Linked DNA regions of Homo sapiens: region 2 is linked to region 1. Evidence: promoter capture Hi-C in human tissues and cell types (Jung and others, 2019). All regions are on one chromosome and are shown on one strand. The core of a region is centred on a gene start or on the middle of the fragment in contact, and the rest is flanking DNA. Distances in the headings are between cores, read along the strand shown. Region 1 holds the start of BCL2A1 (BCL2 related protein A1). Region 2 has its middle 65 kb from the start of TRC-GCA5-1.

Region 1 (5,008 bases), core at 1,504-4,003:
TACTCCAAGAAAATGTCATGAGGGGATTAGACGTCTAACAGATTTACTGGGGTAAATGCCTGTGAGGGAAAAGAGGGAGGGAGGCAGAAGAGACTACAGAGCTGTCAGACTACAATGCAGGACTGACCTCTGCAAAGGACAGAAGGAGGAAGATGGGGTAGGAAGTCTTCCATGACTGTGCAGTCGAAGGAAGTTTCAGCAAAGCCCATGGGGAGTCATTGAAGCAAAGTTACCTATCAAAGGAAGTTGACTTGCAGGAACCGATCTTAAGGTTCCTGCTTTGCTCAGTCATTGGCTGGGAACAGCCTGTAGGATGTGTGGCCTCAGTGCAAAGCTGTGGTAGATTCAAAGCACTGCGGCTGGGGCCCTTAGTCAATTAAACCACCACAGTAGGTCTGAAAGATGCATTTTCATGGCTGCCACGCTATTAACGAGCATTCTAAGCAGCACCTCTCCTTTCCTCCTTAACCCTATGGTGATAGTTCAGAAATGCAGGTTATATATGAATCATTTTTCCTATTTGCAGCTGGTCATAGACAGGATAAAAGACTCAAAGTCACTCCATATGTGGATGGAAAAAAAAAGTGAATTCAATTTCTCCAGCGACCATGAGTTATCTCCTTTTTCTTCCATCCACTGCAAACCTTTTCTCAGGATTGCTGCCATAGCTAAATCAAATGAGATTTGCATTTCACCTATGAAGTTATATCCTTGATAGGTAAAGAGATGATTGGGAGGCCAAATTCCTCATTAGTCCACAAAAGAACAATGAGGAACTAGCTTTGATTAGGCACGTACGTTTTACCAGGCATGGTGATAGAGGCTTTACATAGGTCATCTCTTTGAACTTCACCTCAACCCTCTGAGGTCAACATGTATTGCCTCATTTTACAAATTAAGCACAGACCCAAGGTACATACTGAGTAAAGAAAGAGAGATTTGGCTGGGACTGAGTCCAGGCCCTCTGACTGTAAGTCCAGTGCTCTTTCTGGTCCTGCAATTTCTAATCCACACATCGGATAGTTTACCTGAGTTAAAAATGTGAATTAAGTCAGGCTTAAAGCAGAATTTTGTTTTCTATCAGAAATTCTAGAGTAGGTGGAAGGTGAAGACCAAAGAAGGTATTTTCTTTTTCTTTTTCTTTTTTTTTTTTTTGAGATGGAGTCTCGCTCTGTCGCCCAGGCTGGAGTGCAGTGGCACAATCTCAGCTCACTGCAAGCTCCGCCTCCTGGGTTCAAAGGATTCTCCTGCCTCAGCCTCCCAAGTAGCTGGGACTACAGGTGCCCGCCACCATGCCTGGCTAATTTTTTGTATTTTTGGTAGAGATGGGGTTTCACTGTGTTAGCCAGGATGGTCTCGATCTTCTGATCTCGTGATCCGCTCGCCTCAGCCTCCCAAAGTGCTGGGATTACAGGGGTGAGCCACCGTGCCTGGCCCAAAGAGGGTATTTTTTTCTTCCCTCTCGGTATCATCCTTACTCAATTACAAATGATCAAGGGCGGTACTGCCAGAGTCACCTCGAGAGGCCCTGTTCTCTGCCACCCAGGCTGTTTTGTAGTCTCCATTCCAAATTGTCGTTACTCCGGTTTACCCCGTGGATGGCGTTTAAGACTTTTCTTAAATTTGAAATTCACAGAACCATTTTAAAGTGAACAATTCAGTGGCATTTAGTACCTTCGCAGTGTTGTGCAACTTCCACCTCTATCTAGCTGCAAAACATTTTCTTTTCTTTTTTTTTTTGGAGACAGAGTCTCGCTCTGTTGCCCAGACTGGAGTGCAGTGGCGTGATCTTGGCTCACTGCAACTTCTGTCTCCCGGGTTCAAGCAATTCTCCTGCCTCAGCCTCCCGAGTAGCTGGGATTACAGGCACACGCCACCCGCCTGGCTAATTTTTTGTATTTTAGTACAGACGGGGATTTACCATATTGCCCAGGCTGGTCTCAAACTCCTGAGCTCAGGCAATCCGCCCGCCTTGTCCTCCCAAAGTGCTAGGATTACAGGCGTGAGCCAACGCGGCCGGCCTTGTAAAACATTTTCATCACACAAAAGAAAACCTTCTACCCATTAAGCAGTTACTCCTTCCTCTTCTCAGCCCCTGTCAACCACCAATTTGCTTTCTATCCTATGGATTTAACTGTCTGGATATTTCATAGAAATAGAATCACATAATGTATGACCTTTTCTGTTTGGCTTCTTTCTATTAGCCTAATGTTTTTGAGGTTCATTCCTGTTGAAGCATGTATCAGTTCTTCATTCCTTTTTTGGGATGAATAATGTTCCATAATTTATTTATCCTTTCGTCTGTTGATGAACATTTGAGTTGTGTCCACATCTTGGCTATTGTGAATAGTGCTGCCATGTACATTCGTATGTAAGTATTTGAGTATCTGTTGGGTGTATACCTATGAATGGAATTGCTGGGTCTTTTGACAATTCTGTATTTAACTTTTTGAGAAACTGCCAACATTTTCACAGGGGTTGTACCATTTCACATTCCCACCAGCAATCTACAAGGATTCTAATTTCTCCACATCCTGCATTTAAGACTTGCAAAGCTGAATTAATCACAGGATGAGGAAGTGGCTTCTCTGAAACATTTTCCTCTTTCACATTTTAAACTTTCTCTTTCATACATGACATGAAACACAGCCTACGCACGAAAGTGACTAGGAGGAAGGATATTATAAAGTGATGCAAACAGAAATTCCACCAGCCTCCATGTATCATCATGTGTCATAACTCAGTCAAGCTCAGTGAGCATTCTCAGCACATTGCCTCAACAGCTTCAAGGTGAGCCAGCTCAAGACTTTGCTCTCCACCAGGCAGAAGATGACAGACTGTGAATTTGGATATATTTACAGGCTGGCTCAGGACTATCTGCAGTGCGTCCTACAGATACCACAACCTGGATCAGGTCCAAGCAAAACGTCCAGAGTGCTACAAAATGTTGCGTTCTCAGTCCAAAAAGAAGTGGAAAAGAATCTGAAGTCATGCTTGGACAATGTTAATGTTGTGTCCGTAGACACTGCCAGAACACTATTCAACCAAGTGATGGAAAAGGAGTTTGAAGACGGCATCATTAACTGGGGAAGAATTGTAACCATATTTGCATTTGAAGGTATTCTCATCAAGAAACTTCTACGACAGCAAATTGCCCCGGATGTGGATACCTATAAGGAGATTTCATATTTTGTTGCGGAGTTCATAATGAATAACACAGGAGAATGGATAAGGCAAAACGGAGGCTGGGTATGTGTGATGGAAAAATTCTTCATTGTTCTTTCCTGTGAAATAGAAATTGAGAATTTCCTTGCTAGTTAAAACAACAACAAAACACTTTACCTAAGAATACTATTTTCCTTGGGTGGTTTGTTTTAATTTTTAAAATAAAAATATACTTTCTGGCTTATTTCCAATGAATCCTTGAACTTGAACTTTATAGTTGGAAAGCACTTATGTTTTCAGTTTTTATTCTTAACAGTATAAATTACAGTAGTGAGCTTTGGGGATTAATAAAGCACCTCTCTCATGCAGCTTCACAATCAGCTGTGCACACACTCTAATCTAGTACTTAGCTTTTGCTAGGGTTGTCATGACAGTACAGACAGTACAGAAATTTCTACAATCAGCACAGAAAGTTGCTATCAGATGCTGTTATTTTTAGGTATTTATGGGTTGCAAAAGACAGGTGTAAATTTTTGTAAGTTCATCGCTTACAAATTGGTGTTTTTCAGTTTACTAATACATAATAAATAGTAACATATATTAATATATAGCAAATTACATTACATATAATATATAACACATTATTACTAATAATAAATTCCGGGCTGTTAAAGTTTGTTGATTAAAACATAATATACTGTATGACCAGCAAGAACCTTTATTCAAGAATTTTCAAATAAAAATTTACTTTATTATCAGTGCCTAAAAAAGCCAAGACTATGTAGAGGCCTGTGTTGAAACTCATGTTGGTAAAAAGCCTGACACAGCTGGATGTATATGGTTTCCTTTATATTCCAATATACTTAATAATTATTTTTTTAAAGCACTTAAGTGTTCATTGATCCTCTCTCCAACGGCCTTCACCTCTCCCAAGAGGTAACCACTGTTATCAATTATTTTGCATGCAAAACATGCCTACTGAATCTATCCATAGAAAATAAACAATACTTCTTTGTAAAACATTTTTTGTAAAAAAAGTTTTATATAAAATGTATATGTATGCTTATGTATATGTTTTACATAACATATATGTTATACCATATAACACATACCTTTTTTACATATACACATAGATTTTTTATGTATACATATAAATTTTGCATACATATTTTTACATGTGTATATGTAAAAATAGTACATGGTACTAATGCTGCCACTTATTTTTTTACCCAGAATTATTTAAAATAGTATTATTAAGAGTGCTGTGTATATTCTGTTATATGTAAGTGCTGTAGAGTACCTGGCCATTTCTAGCTGATAGCTGTTTAGGTTATTTCGAGTTTGCTGTCACACACAATGCTTCATTGAATATCATTTTACGTAAATCTTCCCTTGTGCGTGTGTGTAGTTTTCTAGGGTGGATGTTGGGTTGTAGATGCTGGGTCATGGTGTACATACATTTTTTAATTTGTTAGGTCCTTGCCCTCCAAAGTGGCTCTACCAAGTTACACTCCCATCAGCAGCTCGTTAGGATATGCCCCGGGATTCTCCTACCCCAGCTGACTAACAGTAGGTTGCTGCAATTCATCATAATTTTCTTAATTTGTTGGGCTAAAAATATAGAGTTTATCTTGTTTCAATTCTTGTTTTCTTGATTTCTAGTAAGGTTAATTTTTTTTTTACATTTTGAGCATCTTTTCATATATTAACTGATCATTTGTAAATGCAGGGAATTGTCTGTTTACACCCTTTGCCCATTTTCCTTTTATTTTGTCTTTTTCTTATTGATTTGTAGGAATTCTTTGAATATTCTGGATACAAATTATTATTTTTATTATTGTTT
Region 2 (5,008 bases), core at 1,153-3,652, 290 kb after region 1:
CATATCTGCATCCAGCCATTGCTCCTGTGGTGGTGGTTTGACTGAAGGACAGGGAACCCTAATTTTTTTAAGTGTTGTTACATCCCTATCTATACCAGACCTCTCCAAACTCCTGGGTGATTTCTAAGGTGTTAGGCTGCTGCAACCCTGCTAGCAATCTCGGAGGGGATTCCTAGACACCCATGACCCATAGTGAGGTGGGAGGATATTGGTGCCTTTGGCAGACCACGCAGCCCCCAGCCACCATCCCCCAGTGCTGGATGACTTCCCCTCCAGGGCTGTGTTGACTTTTAGACACGAAAGCCACCTGATCATTTATTCTTCCAATGTCATGCTCCATTTGAAGTGGTCCAACTAAGCCTGATTGCTATCCCAGTGACATCTTTTACTCCATGGGGCACATGTCCCATCCCTGGAATAACCTACTTCATCTTTTCTGCTCTTTCCAAAAGGCCATAACCTCAGCATGCAGGGTTTCTCTCTGCAGTGTTCATCTGCAAGGGGCTGTTGGGTCCCTTAGGGGTCACCACTTCCAATGTTCAGGGCTCTAAACAAATTCCACAGTGTCCCGTGGTATGGGTTTAGGAGCTTTATTGGGAAGGAGAAATCTGAAATGAGCAAAGAAAGAGAACGGGGGTTCCCTGTCCCTGCTATTTAGTTCCTGGGGAGGTATAGGGATTGGTGGCTTCCTTCCCGGATAGACAGAGCTGGACTTTACAAGGCCCCAGGTGCTGGCCGGCTTGCAGGCCAGACAACCCCAGTAAACAGCTGGCACATCAGAGCCAAATGCCAAGCCCCAAACAACCTGTCCCCCATGGGCAAGGCTGCTTTCTTACGGATGCTCTATAAAATGACCCAGTCCCAGACACAACTCCTCCCCTGGAAGGTAGACATGGGCTGTCTGACCAGTGAATCCCCAGGCCTTGGCCCACAGGAGCCTGGGAGCCTGGCCCCTCTTCCCTTATTGGCTCAGGCCTTGTGAATATTCTCCTCTCCACAAAAGCTTATTCCTTAATCTGGACCAAGTAACACGGTGGAGTTCATGGAAAGCATGGCGGCTGGCAGGTGGAGTTGTAGCCACCTTGCCAGGCGATTGCCTATGTTTAAATATGTGAAAGAGGCAGATTGTAAAATTCCCTCTCTCTGCCGGCATTGTCTGTTTTGCTCTAACAAGATTCTCCCTTAAGAGCAATGTGTTCTTTGACAATAGCCTGGGGACAGGAGAGGCAAAGTCTTTAAACAAAAATTGTTATTACTCCCACTACTGCTCTCTACTCTTACCTAATTCAAAACATCCCAAGGAGGCTGCATGCCTAACACTCCTGCACCCCAACAGGAAAATAAGTAAGCAGGAAAGCCGGAAGCCCCAAGGATCTGATGCTGCAGTGACTCACTGAGGGGCTTTCCCCTGCTGGGTGCTCTGGAGGCTTTTAAACCTTCGACAATGCCTCGTAGTGAGACTGAGGATGGGCGTGCTTTTACTTTTCTTTTGTCAAGTGGACAAAGGGTTGGTGAGCAAGGGGGTCATTCTTTGGCAGATCAGCTTTAGTACAGATTACACAGAGGCTGAGTGCTTGGGCGATGATTCCTTTTAGCCCGTCCATGTCCAGGTATCCCTTAGAAAGTCTCCAACAACCCCTAGAGATGTGCCTTCCCTAGTTTGAGGACCACTGACTGGTCTAGGAATCTAGGATTCCGAGGTGTCAGGCTTAGGCTAGAGTGCCCTGGGGCCTGCCTGGAAGCTGATAGCCTCCTTGGAACAGTTGCTGGAGACGGTATCTTTATAGAGAGGCTTTTGTGGGTGATGGAGGTTTTCTTCTTCTGACAGATATGCACACAGCTGCAGGAGTTAGCCAATACTATTTTTTCTACCTTCCACTGTTACTGCTGCTATTACTGCTCTCCCCCTGTTTATCCTCTAGCTACATGGTCTCCTAGTAGGTCTTCCAACACACCAGGCACACTCGGTCCTCAGGGCCTTTGCACTGGCTGTTCCCTCTGCTGTAATGCTGATCCAGATATCTGCATGGCCAACTCCCTCATCTGTAATTCTGTTCTCCAGGAGGCCTGCCCTGACTCGTCTATTTCAAGTTGCAACTACATGTTCCTCTCCACCTCCTCTCTATCCCTCATGCCTTCCCTTATTTCCTCTATGAAACCTATCATCTCCTAAAACATTGATTTATGTATTTACGTTTAATGTTTTTGTCTTCCTCTACCACCTCTCACTCCCTGGAACAGAAATTCTTTGAGGGCAAGGATCAGTCTGCTTTGTTCACTGATGTACACTAAATGCCTAGAAGGGAGCTGGCACATGGTTGGTGTGCAGTAGACATTTGCTAATGAAGGAATAAATGAACAGACTCATTTGGTGAAAAAAACAAGTTCAACTTTCACAGCTTAGCTGATCCACATGACCTCTCCCTTAAAAAATATGCAACGCACCATAGCATCAAATTACACCTGAGCTCTGAGAAGTGGCCAGCCTTTCCTTTTTCTTCTCTCCTCCTCCTCTGGTCTTCCTCCTCTTCCTCCTCCTTCTTTTTCCTCTTCCGCTTCTTCTTCTTTTTTTTGTTTATCAGCCAGTATACATGACCCTGACTGACCCTTTTAGTCTCATCTCTGGTCCTTTTTGATGAAGCCCAGAGCCTGCAAACCAGAGGCCAGCGGGACAAAGTTGGCGTGCAGACATGTTTCTTCACAGTGGTTAAAATGAATAAAAATGCATCACCAATCTTTGAAAAAATTGTATATATTTAATATATGTATATATACATTTTTTGAGACGGTCTCATTCTGTCACCCAGACTGGAGTGCAGTGGCATGATCACAGCTCACTGCTCAAACTCCTGGGCTCAAGTAATCCTCCCACTTAATTCTCCCAACTATCTGGGACTACAGGCAAGTGCCAATATGGAATATTTCAAAGATATTTAAACTTCGAAACTATCAAAGCTATCAACATCTTCTTTTGTCTTCTGAAAAATCAGATTTGCTAACATTGGGCCACATCCCCAGTAGGCAGAAGCTAAGCACCAGCTGCCCCTTAGACAGGGCACCGTCTCCATCACCTCCTACTGTGTCCTTGCCACTGGCACCAAGATTAGCAGTGTTCTTGCTGAGCTGTGGCTCCTTCCATAGCCTGCTTTATGTACTCTGTGATTTGTACCCACCTGGCCTCTATAGAAATTTGAGTTTATAGCCCTTGATTTTAAAGATAATGAAGAGATCTGCAGTTCCCAGAATTTGTCCTGTGGTCTCTTTCATTTCCAGGCCTTTGCCAATGCTGGCTTTCAACCTGGAATATTCACCTTCCCCTCTTCACCTGGTCAGCTTCTACTCATTACCTTAGATGGCACTTCCTGTAGGAAGCATGCTTTGGTTTTCCAATATAGAGTTAAGTGCCCTTCCTTATAACAATGCAGGAAGTTCCCTTCCTCTCATTCTGCTGTGAAGTCTTCTCTGTCACTCTGTATTATAATTTCTTATCTTCTTCCCTACTAGATTTAGAGCATTTTTAAGGTAGGGACATGTCTTGTTCACCTTAAGTCCAGGAGTTGGCAAATTATAGCCCACAGGTGAAACTTAACCGGCAGGCTCTTTGTGTACAGCCCTAACGCTAAGAGCAGTTTCTACATTTTTAGAGCATGGTAAGAACAAAACAGTATGTGAGAGACAGCCTATGTGGCCTACAATGCCTAAAATATTCACTCTCACAATCTTTACAGAAAAAGTTTGTTTATCCCTATTCTAGCCTTCCATCTGGCACAAAGTAAGTATTGAATAAATGTGAAATGAATAAATAGCTGTTGTCTTATACCTGGCATTCCAAGTAATACACATGTACTGGAGATTCTAAATTGAGTGGAGAGATAAAGACATTGTATATAGCTTATCAATGTATGGTTACTTAACCTCATAATTTTACCTGCTCCAGGGGGAATACCCCCCATGCCCTCTGCATTGCATGATGCTGCTCACACATTACATATATGTAATACTATGTTTATATTACAATAACATATTTATTATATTATGACATTAATTATACATTATGTAATATATATCATTTAAATAATATAAATAATATACTCACATAATATATTTACATAATAATAATTAATTATTATTATTTTCTATTTCACAAACACTCAAATCTTCCAAGTTTGTTCTAGCCACAGCACCTTTGCATTTTCCATTCCCTCTGCATGGAGTGTTCTTCCCCCAGACTCCTGCACAGCTGGCTTCTCTTCAACACTCAGATCCCAGCTCAAATATCACATCTTCAGAGACGCTTCCTTCTCTTTATCTCATTACTCTGTTTTATCTTCTTCATAGCACAGTTCACCATATGAAGTGATCTTATTTCTTTGTCTACTTATAGTCTGTCTTCACAAATGATGTAAACTTTATGAAGGCAGGCACATGGTCTGTTTTGCTTACTTTCTGTATCCTCACCATTTAGAACTGTGCCTGGCATATGACAGGTTCACAAACACATATTTTAAATAAATGCAATTAGATAGAAACTAAGTGCATGATATTCACATCAGCTTCTTTCTTGCACAGCTATTCAATTCAAGGACTAAATCTGAGAGTTGAACCTCTGATTCAAGAAAAGTAAAAACTTTACACGATTAAAGTCAGTTATGCTACAGTTGGGCTGATTGAGGTGTGAGACGTCACTGGGAAAAACAAGCTTCTTTGAGAAGCCTGCGGGTGCAGGGACAAGGCCATGTCCCATGGGCTGATTGAGGTGTGAGACGTCACTGGGAAAAACAAGCTTCTTTGAGAAGCCTGCGGGTGCAGGGACAAGGCCATGTCCCATTTGGCAGGAAATCCTGGGAGCCCATGCTACAGAAAAGCAGGAATGAAGCTCTGCAGGAAAGCTCTGAATTAATGAGCATCACTGGCTGGCAGCCTTTCGGTTCACTCTCAACACAAATATCAAACCCACCAGCGGATAAACGGCTTTAAATTAAAGGAAAAGGGCTGGTCATGTTTGCTT

What was found. Contacts are between HindIII fragments. The study calls those that stand out against the background at their distance.
Region 2: a fragment that was not itself captured here is called in contact with the fragment with the promoter of BCL2A1 in region 1 in 1 of the 25 tissues and cell types used here (IMR-90 fibroblasts).

What each region holds. Positions count from the first base shown.
Region 1 is chr15:79,968,941-79,973,948 of GRCh38, reverse strand. It overlaps BCL2A1 (BCL2 related protein A1), which reads left to right and starts at 2,753. Exons shown (of 2, transcript NM_004049.4): 1 at 2,753-3,249. The coding sequence starts at 2,830. RefSeq lists an enhancer at 2,130-3,329. The HindIII fragment of the contact is 21,858 bases long and covers 1-5,008 here.
Region 2 is chr15:79,677,304-79,682,311 of GRCh38, reverse strand. No RefSeq gene overlaps it. Among named protein-coding and RNA genes, the nearest start is that of TRC-GCA5-1, 65 kb to the left of the region's middle. The HindIII fragment of the contact is 6,632 bases long and covers 1-5,008 here.